Regions from separate parts of the Homo sapiens genome. Here all the other regions are linked to region 1. Evidence: promoter capture Hi-C in human tissues and cell types (Jung and others, 2019). All regions are on one chromosome and are shown on one strand. Each heading gives the region's core, a stretch centred on a gene start or on the middle of the fragment in contact. The rest is flanking DNA. Distances are from core to core; before and after follow the strand shown. Region 1 holds the start of ZNF250 (zinc finger protein 250). Region 2 holds the start of C8orf33 (chromosome 8 open reading frame 33). Region 3 has its middle 21 kb from the start of C8orf33.

Region 1 (4,388 bases), core at 1,345-3,844:
ATATATATTATATATATCATATACGATTTGTTGCAGGGACTGTGCCTTACACCATTGTGGCACATAGTTAACAGTTCCTGTAAGGCTGTTGTCTTTGCATCTGATGCTGGAACAGGGCAGACAGTTGGGAAGGGAAGATGGATGTAAAGTGAGGAGAGACAAGTTGAGGTCTGTGACCTCAAGCTGGAGCCCAGGATGCGCTGAAACCCCTTTGTTGCCCTATAGGAGAAGCTGGAGCCTTTAGTCTTGGAGCTGAAGGAGCCAGAGGAAGAGGGGGCAGCTGCTGCCTCATGTCGCCCAGGTGAACCAGCAGACACAATGGCACCTGCCCAGACCTTCTGTAGTCCTCACCATCTCTGGACACACTCTGTAATTCCTACATTTATTCTGCGTATTGCCTACTGTCTCCATTCACATGTATGGTCCAGAAAGACATGGATTTGTTAGGCACTTGCTTGTTCACTGATGTAGCCCCGACACTTAGTGCTTAGCACACAAGCACTCAATAAACATTGTGCTGTTGAAGGAAAAAGAGTGACAGAGACACAGAAGGGACGTGCTAGAGAGGATGTCAGCTGCTAAATCTAAGTGAAGGGCACGGAGGTATTCATTGTATTATTCTTTCAACCTTTATGAATGTATCAACATTTGCAAAATAAAAAAGTTGTGGAGGAGGAAGAAAAACAAAAACCAGGATGCACTGAGGTCTGAGGTGAAGGTCCTAGGAGCATCAGTTCTCTGTTGGGATCAAGGTTGCTGGGACAGAGCTTGATCCCTGTCAACTGCTAAAACAATCCAGGACAATCCAATAGTAGAGCTGAATTTTGATTACCTTGGTCCTGAGCTTCACAGCCCTTTGGCAGAGGAAATCCTGTGACACTGAGGTGTAACCACAAGACTGGCCCAAACTGACCCTATTCTGTTGGTAACAGGAGGTATAGCAGAGCCAAAACTGAAAGTCATGTAACCCGGACATGCACAAAGGAGGAAAATCATAACTCGGAACCAACGTTTCCTCCCTGTGGAGCCAAGAAGACAGGGACATGACCGGAGCTTGAGGGGCGGAACGCTTTCAGAAGGGAAGGGTCCATTATCCTGGAAGATCTGGTGCTGAAACCTGCCATTCCACACCTTACCATAAATGGCCAAGTTTAAAGCCCTCCTATTGAAACCTGCCCGCCAGCACTTCTGTGTGCCAACCTGTCCTCCCTAACCCGTCGACTTTGACCTAAGCCCACATGTGGGAGCCACATTTGAGCCATGCCTCCGGTCTCCTTGGCCGTCGACCTTGAAATAATAAAGCCTTCTCTTTTCTCAAAAACTGGTGCCACCGTTTTGGCTTCTAGTGCGCCAGGCAACGGGCCCATTGCTCGAAACGCGCGTGGTGGATGGTAGCTCCGTGAAGTGCGAACCCCTGCCCGCAAGGGCTGCTAAGTTCGCTGAAGCGTAGCACAGACTTCGCGTCTGCCTGGTGCGCGGCAAGTACGGAATTATCGCCACATCCTCCCGGCCTCCGCTCCCAACAGCACGGGCCGGGCACTCGCTTCAAGCCTACCCCCTAACCTTAAGCCTTCCCCGCCGCCCCCACGCAGCCCCCAGCCCCGCCCTGTGGGGAAGCCTCTTGAGAGTCTGGGCCCGCCCACGCGCCCAATGGACGACGCGGACCTGACCTTCGGGAGTGGGGCCAGCAGAAGGTGGACTAGGCGTCAGCCTTCCCGTCCCCTGACACCGCTCCAAACCAGCCCCACCCTCCCTGCCGCGGCTGTCAGGTCCTGGGCTGTGCCCGAAGCCTCCACACGGGTGTGGCCCGCGCCCTCGTGAAGGCCCGCCCCTCTCCCCCAGGTGCGCGGTGTAAACACACCAAAAAGCAAACACCAGGGCCGAGTGGGCGACGGAGACGGTCGCTGTTCAGTGACGCCCCCTGTCGGGAGCACGCCGGGCCGGACACAGCGAAGAGCGGCTGCGCCTCGGACCTCGCAGCACTCAGCCTCCTAAGTGGGAGGAATAACCTCACGCAAGTCATCAAACAAGAGGACTTCAGTGTTGCAACGAAGGAAGAGAAAGGGCCCCTGAGAAGGCGACATTCGCACTGCAGCGGCGCAGGGACCAGCCAGGCGGCTGAGGGCAAGGTCGTTCCCAGCAGCGGGAACCGCAAGGGCAAAAGGCTCGGAGGGGGGAACGAGCTCGAGTTCCAGGACGGCCGAAGCCAGCGCAAGTCGAGGAGGGACTGCGGGGCCGGCAGGGGTGTCCTCCACAGGGCGACGGCGGCAGGAGCTCGGGAACCGGGACTGCGAGCGGGTAAGGCTCGGCGATGGGCTGTAACCTCCGCGCCCGGAAGTGCGGCCGGGGAGCCGGCCGGGCCCATTGCCCAGAGGTGTTCGGCCCCTCTAGGGATCGCGGAGGTCTGGCTCTCGGTGGCTCCTGAGAGCTCCCTGCAGTCGGTCACCGAGAAAGGCTTCGGGCGGGCAGGCGGGCCAAATGACGTAAACATGCTTGCCCTCCAGGATTGGCGAACTCGGCTGTGGGGGCGGGAACTGAGGGGCAGGAGCCCCCAGGGATTGGCGGCTGCGCAGACGGGGCGGGGCAGCCCTTTGTCTGAAGGTGCTGCGGGATGCCGTTCCTTCGCGCGTGAGGCTGCGGCTCTGACGGTGAGTGGGGGGCGCGTGTCGTCGCCGGCCAGGACCCTCTCCCATCACGGACACCGGAGCCGGTGCGTCCTCCACACGAATCGTGGACTCTTCCCCGCGAGCACGCACTGCCTCCTGCGTTTACGCTGGTCCCCTCCCCTCACGGACGCGCGGCGGCCTCCTCCCCAGGGCCAAGGCCGCGCCCTCTCCCCCGTTCGGGGTTCCCACCCTTCCCCTCGCCCGGCCTTGGACCCCCTCAGGCCCTCCCGCACCCCCGTCCGCCTCGGACGGCCTCGGTCCCTTCCCCGCCCCTACCCCCTTGGGCCCCGTCAGACCGGCGTCCCTCCCACCTTGGATCTCCTCAGATCTCCGGCCTTCCTCCCCCTCGTGCCCTCCCGCGCGCTTTCTACCGGGCGCCGTGCCTAGGGCCAGGATGGCCGGAGTCCTAGGGGCGCAGTCCGGACCCCCGGGCCGCTCTTCTTGCCGCGCTCCTCGGGGTCTCGCGTCCCCTGGGATGGGCCCGGAAAGGGGTGGGGAGCTTCCCCAAAATATAAAAATGGAGGTTTTTTCTGTTTGATGCACATCCTGAGGAGCCCCATGAAGACCCCGGCGGCGCACCGGGAGCGCCACTTTACTTAGCTATAAAAAGTCTTCCCGCGTCAAGACGAAAACGAGCTGCTTTCGTTTCAGCAGTTGGTCGAGTGTGCTACTTGCCGGGTGTCTTATCCTCTCCCCATTTTGCTGTCGATGCTGTCTTTTCTGTTACTGTGTTAGAGCCCTATTTTAATGAATGAGCCCAACTCTTTGCAACACAGCAAATATTTTCCTTGTTGTTTATTGGCTTAATTTTAAAATTGAAAATAATATGCAATACTTCTTCTAATGCAGGCATGTCAGAAATATATAAAAGTCATCCCCCCCGACACTCTGCCAGTGTATGAAGAGGCAGGAGCTGTGAACAGTTTCAGAATTTTTGAATGCCGTTAGAGCTTTAGGCACGCACGCACACCCTTTTTTCTGTCATCAAAGGGAAGCTGGTGTCGTTTGACTAACACCAGGGGCGGCAGGGGGCGCTCCACTCGTCCTCCGCCGGGTGGGTACTCGCAGATTTTTCAGTTCGTAACTTGTCTTCTGGACATAGGTTTCTCTGTCCGGTGGTCTCTACGAAGTGGGTAAGGGTGGGAGATTGCCATTGACATTCCCGCCCTGGACGGGACTCTGGTCCTGTGGGCTTTGACAGGTCACTGCATTCCTGCCAGGTCGACGTTTTGCGTTTATTGGTGAGATTGAAATCCCTTCATTTGTGTTTTCGCCATTTGTATTTCTTTGTGATTTGCCAGCTCATATTTTTTTCCATGTATGTTGAAAACATGCTTCTCAATTTGTCTTTTGACTCTGATTATGGTGTTTGATTCTGGTTTGGGCTTTTTCAAAATAGAAAATTTAAAATTTTTAGGAGTCAAATATTTTGCCTTAAGGCATTTTGGGCTTTGTGCTGTGTTTTAAAGGGCTTTCCCCACTCCAAGATTATTTTTAAAATAAACTCTTGTTTTTCTGTGGTACTTGTAAAATGTTGGATACGTCTGGAATTTATTTTATTGTGGGGTGAGTTTGGAATACAGCTTTTGGAATTCCTTTTTTCCTCTAAATCATAGCCATTTCTAACACCATTGATCTTCCCATTGATTTGAAAAACCGCTTTTGTCATATACTAAATTGTTGCATGCCTTTAGGTCCATTTTTGGAGTTTGGTAGCTTTGA
Region 2 (4,388 bases), core at 563-3,062, 150 kb before region 1:
CAGCCAGGGACAGACCAACTCCAGGGTTCTCTGACAACAGAAGTCCTGGAAAGGCTCTGCACTCAAAACAAACCCCTACACCACCCCAAGGGAGGGGGATTGTTTCAGGTTCGGGGAGACGCTAAAAGAAATTGAACCTAAACTCTTCATCAGGCATGTCCAGAGTGGCTTTGGCTCTCCATATAGAGCGAGGCCTGCAGACCCTTTGGCTCTTCTTTCTGGTGGCTCCATCTACAGGTTGCACCTGGGCTGAATAAGCAGCTGTCGGGGAGAGAAGCAGCGTATGTCAGAACTGAATAATAACAATTAACATTACCTGTACAGTTATGTTTGCCCATACAATTCTAACCACCTTGCATAAATTAACTGATTAATTCCTCAAATTTGTAAGGTTGATATTACTATCATCCCCCACTTAGAGAGGTTCAGTAGTTTGCAAAAGGTGTTAGTACTACTATGTGGTAGATCCAGGATTTGAACCTAGCTGATCTGGCCCCAGGAATTGCACTCAAACTGTTATGGGATATGGCTTCATTGCTAGTAGAGAAAGCCAAGACACAAAGACATGAGGCAGCTTTCCCCAACCCAGGAGCAGGACCAACATAGGACCATGCTCTTTCCCACTCCTCCCAGGGCCTCCCCGCTGCTTCCCAGGTTCAGTCCTAGGAAGAGGAAAGAGAGGTCCACGCTTTCTGTTTCCCTGCTCCCTCAGGCTTCCCTGAGCCCATCTCCTTCCCCCACCAGGCTTGTTGCTCTGGGCCTTCTTCCTTTCACCCCCTAGACACTTCCTCCTTAAGTTAGGCCTTCCTGAATCAACCAGTGGCTAGCTCCTCACCAGCTCTGAGAGCCCGCAGGGCCTCACGCCATTCGGCTTCCATCTGAGCCCTATAGTCTCCAAACAAGGAGTGCATCAGCTGCCTCTTCCGGGGCAAGGGCGTTCTTTTGCTGCGCAGGGTTCGGATTGCTCCAATAGCCTGCTCTTCTGCGAATAAAAATAAAGGACTAGTGAACACCTCTATTACTGACCTCCTACCACCCCGCCGCAAAGCCAACAACTCCATACTCTGCCAGCACCTGCAGGCCAGGCAGTGCCACTGTTCACATCCCCCAGCTCTACAGAAGGGTCCCTTACTCTGTTTCGGGGTGGGTTTCTGCCTCTTGAGGCCCAGCTCCAGTTGCTCCACACACCAAGCCAATTCCTGGGCCAACTGTTGTGCCTGTGATGGATTTGGGGAAGTGGCTGTGAGAGGGCACTGGAAAACCATAGCCGCCGGCCCCATCCCATGCCCCTCCCCGCCTTAACTCCGCGGACCCCAGATCACACGTGCCCGTGGATTCGCACCCGTGGATTCCACCCTTCCCGACCGAAGCCCGCCCTTGCCTGGGCCTCAGCGCTTAGGGGAACTTCTTCTGGGGCGAGTTTCTCTGAGGCCTTCTCGCCTCCATTTGCCACAGAGGCCCTGTTCCGCGTTTTCTTCTTATTCTTTTGTTTTTTCGACGCTGTGCCGCCTTCATCGCCCAACGGGTGCGCTCTGGAGTCAGCGTTACTGCACGTAGGTTGCTCTGGGCAGAGACAGACAGTGGAAGGATTCCGGGCGCTGGAAACTGGGCCGGGAAGCCGGGCTCCGCGGGACGCGCAGGGAGTACCCGGGCCTGGGGCCGCCGCTGCCTCCCCAGCAAGATGTCCCAGGGCCTGGAGAAAGGGGGGTAGCACGAGGGTCACCGAGAGCCGCCAACAATGCAAGGCCCAGCCACCCGCGCGTCTTCTCCACACCGCTCACCGCCATGCGCCGCAGTCGCCACCGGAACTACGCGGGGCGCAGAGTCCGACGCCGAATTCCGTCCTTCAAGAACGCGCCTGCGACTCTAGGTTCCGCGGGGCGCGGGCGGGGCGCGGGCGGGGCGCGGGCGGGGCGCGGGCGGGGCGCGGGCGGGGCGCGGGCGGGGCGCGGGCGGGGCGCGGGCGGGGCGCGGGCGGGGCGCGGGCGGGGCGGGGCGCGGGCGGGGCGCGGGCGGGGCGGGGAGCGGGCGGGGCGGGGCGCGGCTGGGGTGGGATGAAGCTGGGACGGGGCGAAGCTGGGACGCGCCTGGGACGAAGCTGAGATGGGGCTGGGGCGGGGCCTGGGGGTTCGGGGAAGAGGCTGAAGAGGGGTCTCGGAAGAACCCTTGTGAGCGAGTGATCGCGGGCGCTGACTACGTGCCCGGCACCTTTCCGGATAAAAGTTCAAAGCTCTCCACGAGGGTGTGTCTTCTCAAGGCTCACCTTTTGGTGGGGAGGGAAAAGCAAGTAAACAGCACGTGAGCAGCTACGGCGCAAGAGGGTGGTCGGCAAAGACCCTGGGAAATGGGGAAGAGCGAGGGTCAGGGCGCGGTCGTTTGAGAGGCCGGCGTCTCGGGACGTGGAGGCTCGGGTGAGGTCTGAGAGTTGGGAGGGCCCCCGTCATGGGCTTACTTCCGTTCTAACGCAGTGGGAAGTCGCTGCAAGATGTAAATCTGAAGAGTGGCATAATCGTAGACGTATGTTCTGCAGATCTCTCTGCTCTTGTGTAACGAGTGGGGCACATGGGGTGGAGGGACGTGGAGGGGTTTCAGAAGCAGACGCGGGAAGAGCCTTGGACAGGATATGGACGTGAGGGAGGGTGGCGGTATGGGGGAGAGGGAGAGCCCCATCCCACCACCTCTCTTCCCCTGGATGCTTCCCTCCCACTATACCTTGCTAGAGACCTGGGGTCACACACAACACTCGACCCCCGCCGATGGAGGCATGACAACCGAGAGGAATTGCGTAGGGGTTGAGGTGAGGCTGAGTAGGGTTTCAGGGGGGCAACGGGCTATGCCAGGAGGGTGGGTTGTGTTGCTTGAGAAGGTAAGAGTCCGAGATGTCTGATGATTCCTTTCGGGGACACAGGAGTGGAAAGCGGTGTTTCCTGAGACGGTGGGGTGGGAAGTGTTAGCTGCCTGGTCTGCAAGGTCTCGAAGGGTTACAGTTTGGTCATCACTGATAGTTATTTACTGCAGTGTGATACATTACTCCCAAAATTCGGCGGATTGGCCGGGCGCGGTGACTCACGCCTGTAATCCCAACACTTTGGGAGGCCGATGCGGGCGGATCACGAGGTTAGGAGTTTGAGACCATCCTGGCTAACATAGTGAAACCCCGTCTCTACTAAAAAATACCAAAAAATTAGCCGGGCATAGTGGCGGGCACTTGTAGTCCCAGCTACTCGGGAGGCTGAGGCAGGAGAATGGCATGAACCCGGGAGGTGGAGCTTGCAGTGAGCCAAGATCGCACCGCTGCACTACAGCCTGGGTGACAGAGCGAGACTCCATCTAAAAAAAAAAAAAAAAAAAAAACACGCAGAATTTAAACGGGACACGCAGTAAAGGAGATGCGGCATACAGTAATTTATTACAAAGGAGAAAGAATATTTGGAAAGTTAAGTGAACAATAGACAGTACACCCTGAGAGAGAGAGAGAGGATTGAGGGCCAGCTGCTCATAAGGTTGGGGCAGCAAAGACGCATGAGGGAGACTCCCTTTATGGGGGTCTTACATGATTATTCATAAGGAATTGGGAAGAGGTGCTACTAGTGAGTATGTTCTGGATGGTCCTCTGAGTGCACATGTGCGGTAGCTGTATGTTCTTACATGCTTGTTCATACAATGCTTCTTGTCATACAATGCTTGTTCTACATGCTGGTATATGATTGTTCGTACATGTCACATGTCTTATTAGCATCTTAAACCTCCAACCAGGGCTCTGTTTTTTACTATTATAATGAGCGAAAGGTCAGTCTGAGGACAGGTAAAATCAAAATGTACATGCTCTTTGCAGGGGAAATTCTCTACTGAAGATAGTTTTGCTTGAAAGAGCTTAACCACAATGTGAAGGCAGAGGCTTATTGTGCTGATTGCACAGTCACAACAGTTGCTGCATCCCGAGGACATGGTTACTTCCTTGACTACCTATCCTGCCTCACTTTCAATGCTCTGATTTTATCCATTACCTTCCTGACTCATATGCTATTTTTGTCTTGACTTCATTTCTATCTTTGTTTTTAAATCTGCCATATTAGACTTAATTCTATTTACAGTCAGTGTTTTCAAATATACAACTTTTGTTTTTCTTAGAGTCCATGTCTCACTCTGTCACCTAGGTTGTCCTGGGCTCAACTGATCCTCCCTCCTGCCTCAGCCTCCCAAGTAGCTGGGACCACAGGCATGCACCATCATACCAGCTAATTTTGTAATTTTTTGTAGAGATGGGGTCTCACCAGGATGCCCAGGCTGGTCTTGAACTCCTGGGCTCAAGCAATCTTCCCACCTCAGCCTCCCATGCCTGGCATCATTCCTTATATCTCAGTTCTGATATCATTTCTTTAAATGTA
Region 3 (4,388 bases), core at 758-3,257, 130 kb before region 1:
AGTTTACAGTCCCACCAACAGTGTTAAAGTGTTCCTATTTCTCCACATCCTCTCCAGCACCTGTTGTTTCCTGACTTTGTAATGATTGCCATTCTAACTGGTGTGAGATGGTATCTCATTGTGGTTTTAAATCAATTATCAATTATAGGTTTTAAATTTGCCCTGGCTTTTAAAGGAATAGGGTACACTGTTTTTTCTTTAATACTTCTCTCTCTCTTTCTTTGACTTTCTGTCTCTCTGTTTCTCTCTTTGACTTTGTCTCTTTCTCTCTTTCTCTGACTCCCTCTTTGTCTGTCTCTTCCTCTCCTTCTCTTTGACTTTCTGTCTCTCTTTCTTTCTCTCTGACTTCCTCTTTGTCTCTTCCTCTCTCTCTTTCCTTCTCTCTTTTTCTGTCTTTCCCTCTCTCTATCCCTCTCTCTTTCCTTCTCTCTTTGACTTTCTGTCTTTCCTCTCTCTCCCTCTCTCTCTCTTTCCTTCTCTTTGTCCTTCTCTTTGTCAAGTGCCCTGCCAGCCACTTATGCTGCTGTTCTCTGCTCTCCTTCCTCTTTTTGATGGCTTTGCAGTGTAAGACTGCCACCTCCTTGGGTTTTTGCACTGCGTGCAATAACTCCAAGATTTCCTTGTGGTATTTAATGGGGGTTCCCCCAGAGGTTAGGAACTCCCTTTTTTTCCATATTGCAGCATGGGCATGTAGGATTACATAAGCATGATTGCTATCTGTATACACATTTATTCTTTTTCCCTTTCCCAGTCCTAAGGCTTGGGTAAGTGCCACTAGTTCTGTTAACTGGGCACTGGTCCCTGGGGGAAGAGGCTTACTTTCAAGTACCGTTACATCACTAACTATGGCATAACCTGCCCTTCATATCCAATTCTCCACAAATGAACTTCCATTGGTATATAGGTTAGGGTCAGGATTAACTAAGGGGACTTCTAAGAGATCCTCTCAGTGGCATAAGTCTGGACTATAATTTGTTGGCAGTAGTGCTCAACTGGTCCTCCATCCTCTGGGAGAAAGGTGACAGGGTTTAGGGCTGCACATGTGCATATTTGAAGCACCAGTCCCTCAAGGTGTAGCAGCTGGTATCTAAGCAGGCAGTTGTCTGATAGCCATAAACTACCTTTGGCACCTATTATGCCATTTACATCATGAGTAGTCCAGATGGTGAGATCCTTTCCTTGTATTATTTTCATAGCCTCTGATACTGAGATTGCCACTGCCACAACTACCCATAAACAGTGAGGCCAGCCTTTTTTCCACTGTTGGGGAAACCAGCCCCACAACACCCAGTGGGTACCCCAAATCCAGCAGAGACAAAGGAGTTGGAAAGAGACAGAATAAGCATTTAAAAGGCAGGTCCAGGGGACAAGAGTGTTGGAGGCTTGCTCATGGCCCAGAGCTCTCAGGCTCTGCCCAATTTATTGGTCTACAAGCTCTTTGTTCTTAAGGCAGATGGGAGGGGGAGGAAGGGGTGGGAAAAAGGATTAATCAGTGAAGGAGAACTCGTGAGTCATTCGATAAGATGTATAGCAGTGGCGGTTTCTGTGAATTTCCTTGAGCAGAGGTGTATGTCTAAACTACTTAAGATCTTGCGGGTTTCAGGAGGAGCCAAGATGTTTGATTATACTCCACTGCTTCAAGGGAGTGTTATCTCCCTGAGCAACCTGTGGAATGCTGCTGAGCAGTTATGCTCTCAGGGCATAAAGACATGAAGGCAATAAGGAGACTTTTCCCCCCAGAGGCTGCCCATGGCTTCCCATGGGTGTCTCACACAGGGGAGACCAACTCAACTGGCACCCTAGAAACTCTCTTTCCCACATGTCCCCCTTTTTTGTCTTTATTAATTTTTTTTGATTAATAACTGCCATTGCTATCATGGCTCATTCACGGTGTCTGGCTTCTCTCCCAAGGCATCATCCACATCTGTAGACTAAAAACAAACAGCATAAACAGACACAAACCAAAATAAAATTTGCAATTGTTGATCCACCTATGGTTTTAATCCACTTTAAAGGATTGGTATTAGAAAGGCCATCAGCAGCTCCAGCAAGAATATCATCTCCAGGCAACAGGGTGAGATGAACCTTAGATGTCTCAAAAACATGTTTTTCCAGTTTAGCAATATCTAATGATAAATTATCTTCTTTTCCTTGTAGGTGACATCTAATCATCTCCCAATGGTGTTCACTGGCATTGTAAGAGCTAGGAGTAATACAAAAATCAGAAGTATTCCAATCACGTTGCATTTGAATTCTATGCTCCAAGCTCATAATCCAATCTCCCATCCACATTACTGTTTGATGGAGATCATTAATTTGATTTGCCAATTTTTGATCTATTTGGCTTTGGGGATTCCAAAGCTTAGAAGAATTTTTCTGCCAACTATCCACAAAGCCCACAGTTTGAATAGAAGTGTGCAAAGCAACACCAGCAACAGCAGCAGCAGCTGTGACAGCTATAAGGCCCATGATCACAGCTATTAAAGTAAATATGCATCTCTTTTATCTATTAAGTATTCCTTTTAGTAATTCAGTGATAATATGTATGGAGGGAGAGGACTCCCAAGGTCTATTGAGGGAAATAGGTATCCAAACTCCTTCTCAGGCCCTAACCAGTAAAATGTTATTATCTTTATTAAAGGTAGAATTAATGCAGGTAAAAAGATGACAGTTGAGGAATGATATGGTTTGAGAGTCAGGTAGGATATTAATTTTTCCCACTGCCAACATAAGAGGAGGTTTAACACAACTCTGCAATGGGACCATCTGATTAGAAGTCATGGCTACAACAAATTGAAGTTTTTACTATGGGTCTCTGTTTTATATTCTCCTTTCCAAATCCGAATTGGGTTTGAGCCATCATTAATTTCCACAATTCTGGATGTTCTGGACTTATAATTGGATCAATTATTTTGGGGCTTGAAGGAGCCATACCATTCCCCTCCCACTTAATAGGGAAATGTGCTTCCATTCTTCTATATAATTTTGGTGCATAATCTGGGTGGTCGTTTGCAAAAGGAGTCTCTCTACAATCTTCACGCTGTCCAGTACAATTTACTGCAAAGCCTCTCCTAGGGGCCAAATCAATGATGATTCCATAGGAATTATTTTGCAGTACAGCATCGCTGTTTGCAATACAATCTTCCCAGGTTAGCACCTCTAGCTTTCCAGACCATTTAGTGGCCTGCCTAGGGCAGGGCTTCTTATTAGGTTTAAATTTATTAATCTGGTGATGTGTCATAACATAGCCGTGCACAAGGTATTTAATAGTGTCCAAAGATTGAAATGTTCTTCCACTGATTACATGAATACAGGCTTTTGATCCACTATGTGCAGGGACATAAACCATCCAACTTTATTTATCATAATTTAAACATCCTCCTGTCGGCCCCAGGCAGATGGGAGGAAAGTGATAAGCAATGGAAACATTCATTAACATTCCTTCCTCCTCTGGATGAGTAGGACCTCGGTTGCCTGTTGGTCCAGGCATCCAGACACTATCATTAACATAAACCTCCACCAGGAAGTCTAACCATGTAACAGGCCTAATCAGTGGTGGGAATGGAATGTAGGCCCAATAATTGTAATTTTGATCTGCCTCAGCTATGGGGAGACTCACCACCAGGGAGATTACTGTCATCATAGCTACCATTAGATTACTGGTGGTCAGCGGCTTATTCTGAGACCTCAGGTTCTCTTCTGTAATATGAGCTAGTCTCTTCATCTGCCCCCAGGTCGGTGGAGTTACTTGGTGGGTTTTACTGGTTTCCATCTGCTCAACAGAGATGTTCATCTGAGCCATCTGATGAACTGGGGGTGAAGGGATATTCCAAGGTCTTTACCTCTTCCTTGGATTCTGGCTTATGGCACAGCTTAAGATGTCTTATGTGTACCCAGACAGGAAGCTGATTCTCTCCCGGTGAGATACAAGAAAACGCTTGACCCCAAGTAATGATTTTGCCCTTTTCCCAGGTTTTGATTCTGACTTCCTTCCACCACACATGTTTTCCTTCATGACGATTTATTTTTGCCCTGACAAATGCTGTTCTGCTGTTGTTGTAACCTTATCTTTAGACAAATTCAAAAAATTTAAAGTGATAAGAGCAAATTGTAGCTGCATATGGGGAGTAGAGTATTCTCTGGTTCCCCCCTCTGTCTTTTGTTTTTGTAATTGAGATTTTAAGGTTTGATTAGCCCATTCAACAATGGCTTGGCCTTGAGAATTATAGGGTATTCCAGTACTGTGCTCAATGTACCATTGTTGAAGGAACGCTTGTAAAGATTTACTACAGTAGCCTGGGCCATTGTCTGTTTTAATCTTTTGTGGGAGGCCCATGGCAGCAAAACAGGAAAGTAAATATCTTTTAATACGAGCAGCCGCCTCGCCT

Evidence for each region. Contacts are between HindIII fragments. The study calls those that stand out against the background at their distance.
Region 2: the fragment with the promoter of C8orf33 here is called in contact with the fragment with the promoter of ZNF250 in region 1 in 1 of the 25 tissues and cell types used here (IMR-90 fibroblasts).
Region 3: a contact is called between a fragment that was not itself captured here and the fragment with the promoter of ZNF250 in region 1, in 2 of the 25 tissues and cell types used here (lymphoblastoid cells and mesendoderm cells).

What each region holds. Positions count from the first base shown.
Region 1 is chr8:144,899,659-144,904,046 of GRCh38, reverse strand. It overlaps ZNF250 (zinc finger protein 250), which reads left to right and starts at 2,594. Exons shown (of 6, transcript NM_001109689.4): 1 at 2,594-2,648. LOC124902042 reads right to left here and starts at 2,423. Exons shown (of 1, transcript XM_047422534.1): 1 at 1,766-2,423. The coding sequence starts at 2,365. The coding sequence ends at 1,766. RefSeq lists silencers at 1,661-1,740, 2,801-2,910 and enhancers at 1,437-2,040, 2,041-2,643, 2,644-3,248. The HindIII fragment of the contact is 10,274 bases long and covers 1-4,388 here.
Region 2 is chr8:145,049,891-145,054,278 of GRCh38, reverse strand. It overlaps C8orf33 (chromosome 8 open reading frame 33), which reads right to left and starts at 1,812. Exons shown (of 5, transcript NM_023080.3): 1 at 1,782-1,812; 2 at 1,382-1,693; 3 at 1,133-1,217; 4 at 836-982; 5 at 1-261. The coding sequence starts at 1,787. The coding sequence ends at 122. RefSeq lists enhancers at 438-1,238, 2,167-2,216, 2,257-2,386 and a silencer at 1,887-1,956. The HindIII fragment of the contact is 15,142 bases long and covers 1-4,388 here.
Region 3 is chr8:145,029,593-145,033,980 of GRCh38, reverse strand. It overlaps the pseudogene LOC124902043. Among named protein-coding and RNA genes, the nearest start is that of C8orf33, 21 kb to the left of the region's middle. The HindIII fragment of the contact is 4,725 bases long and covers 1-4,369 here.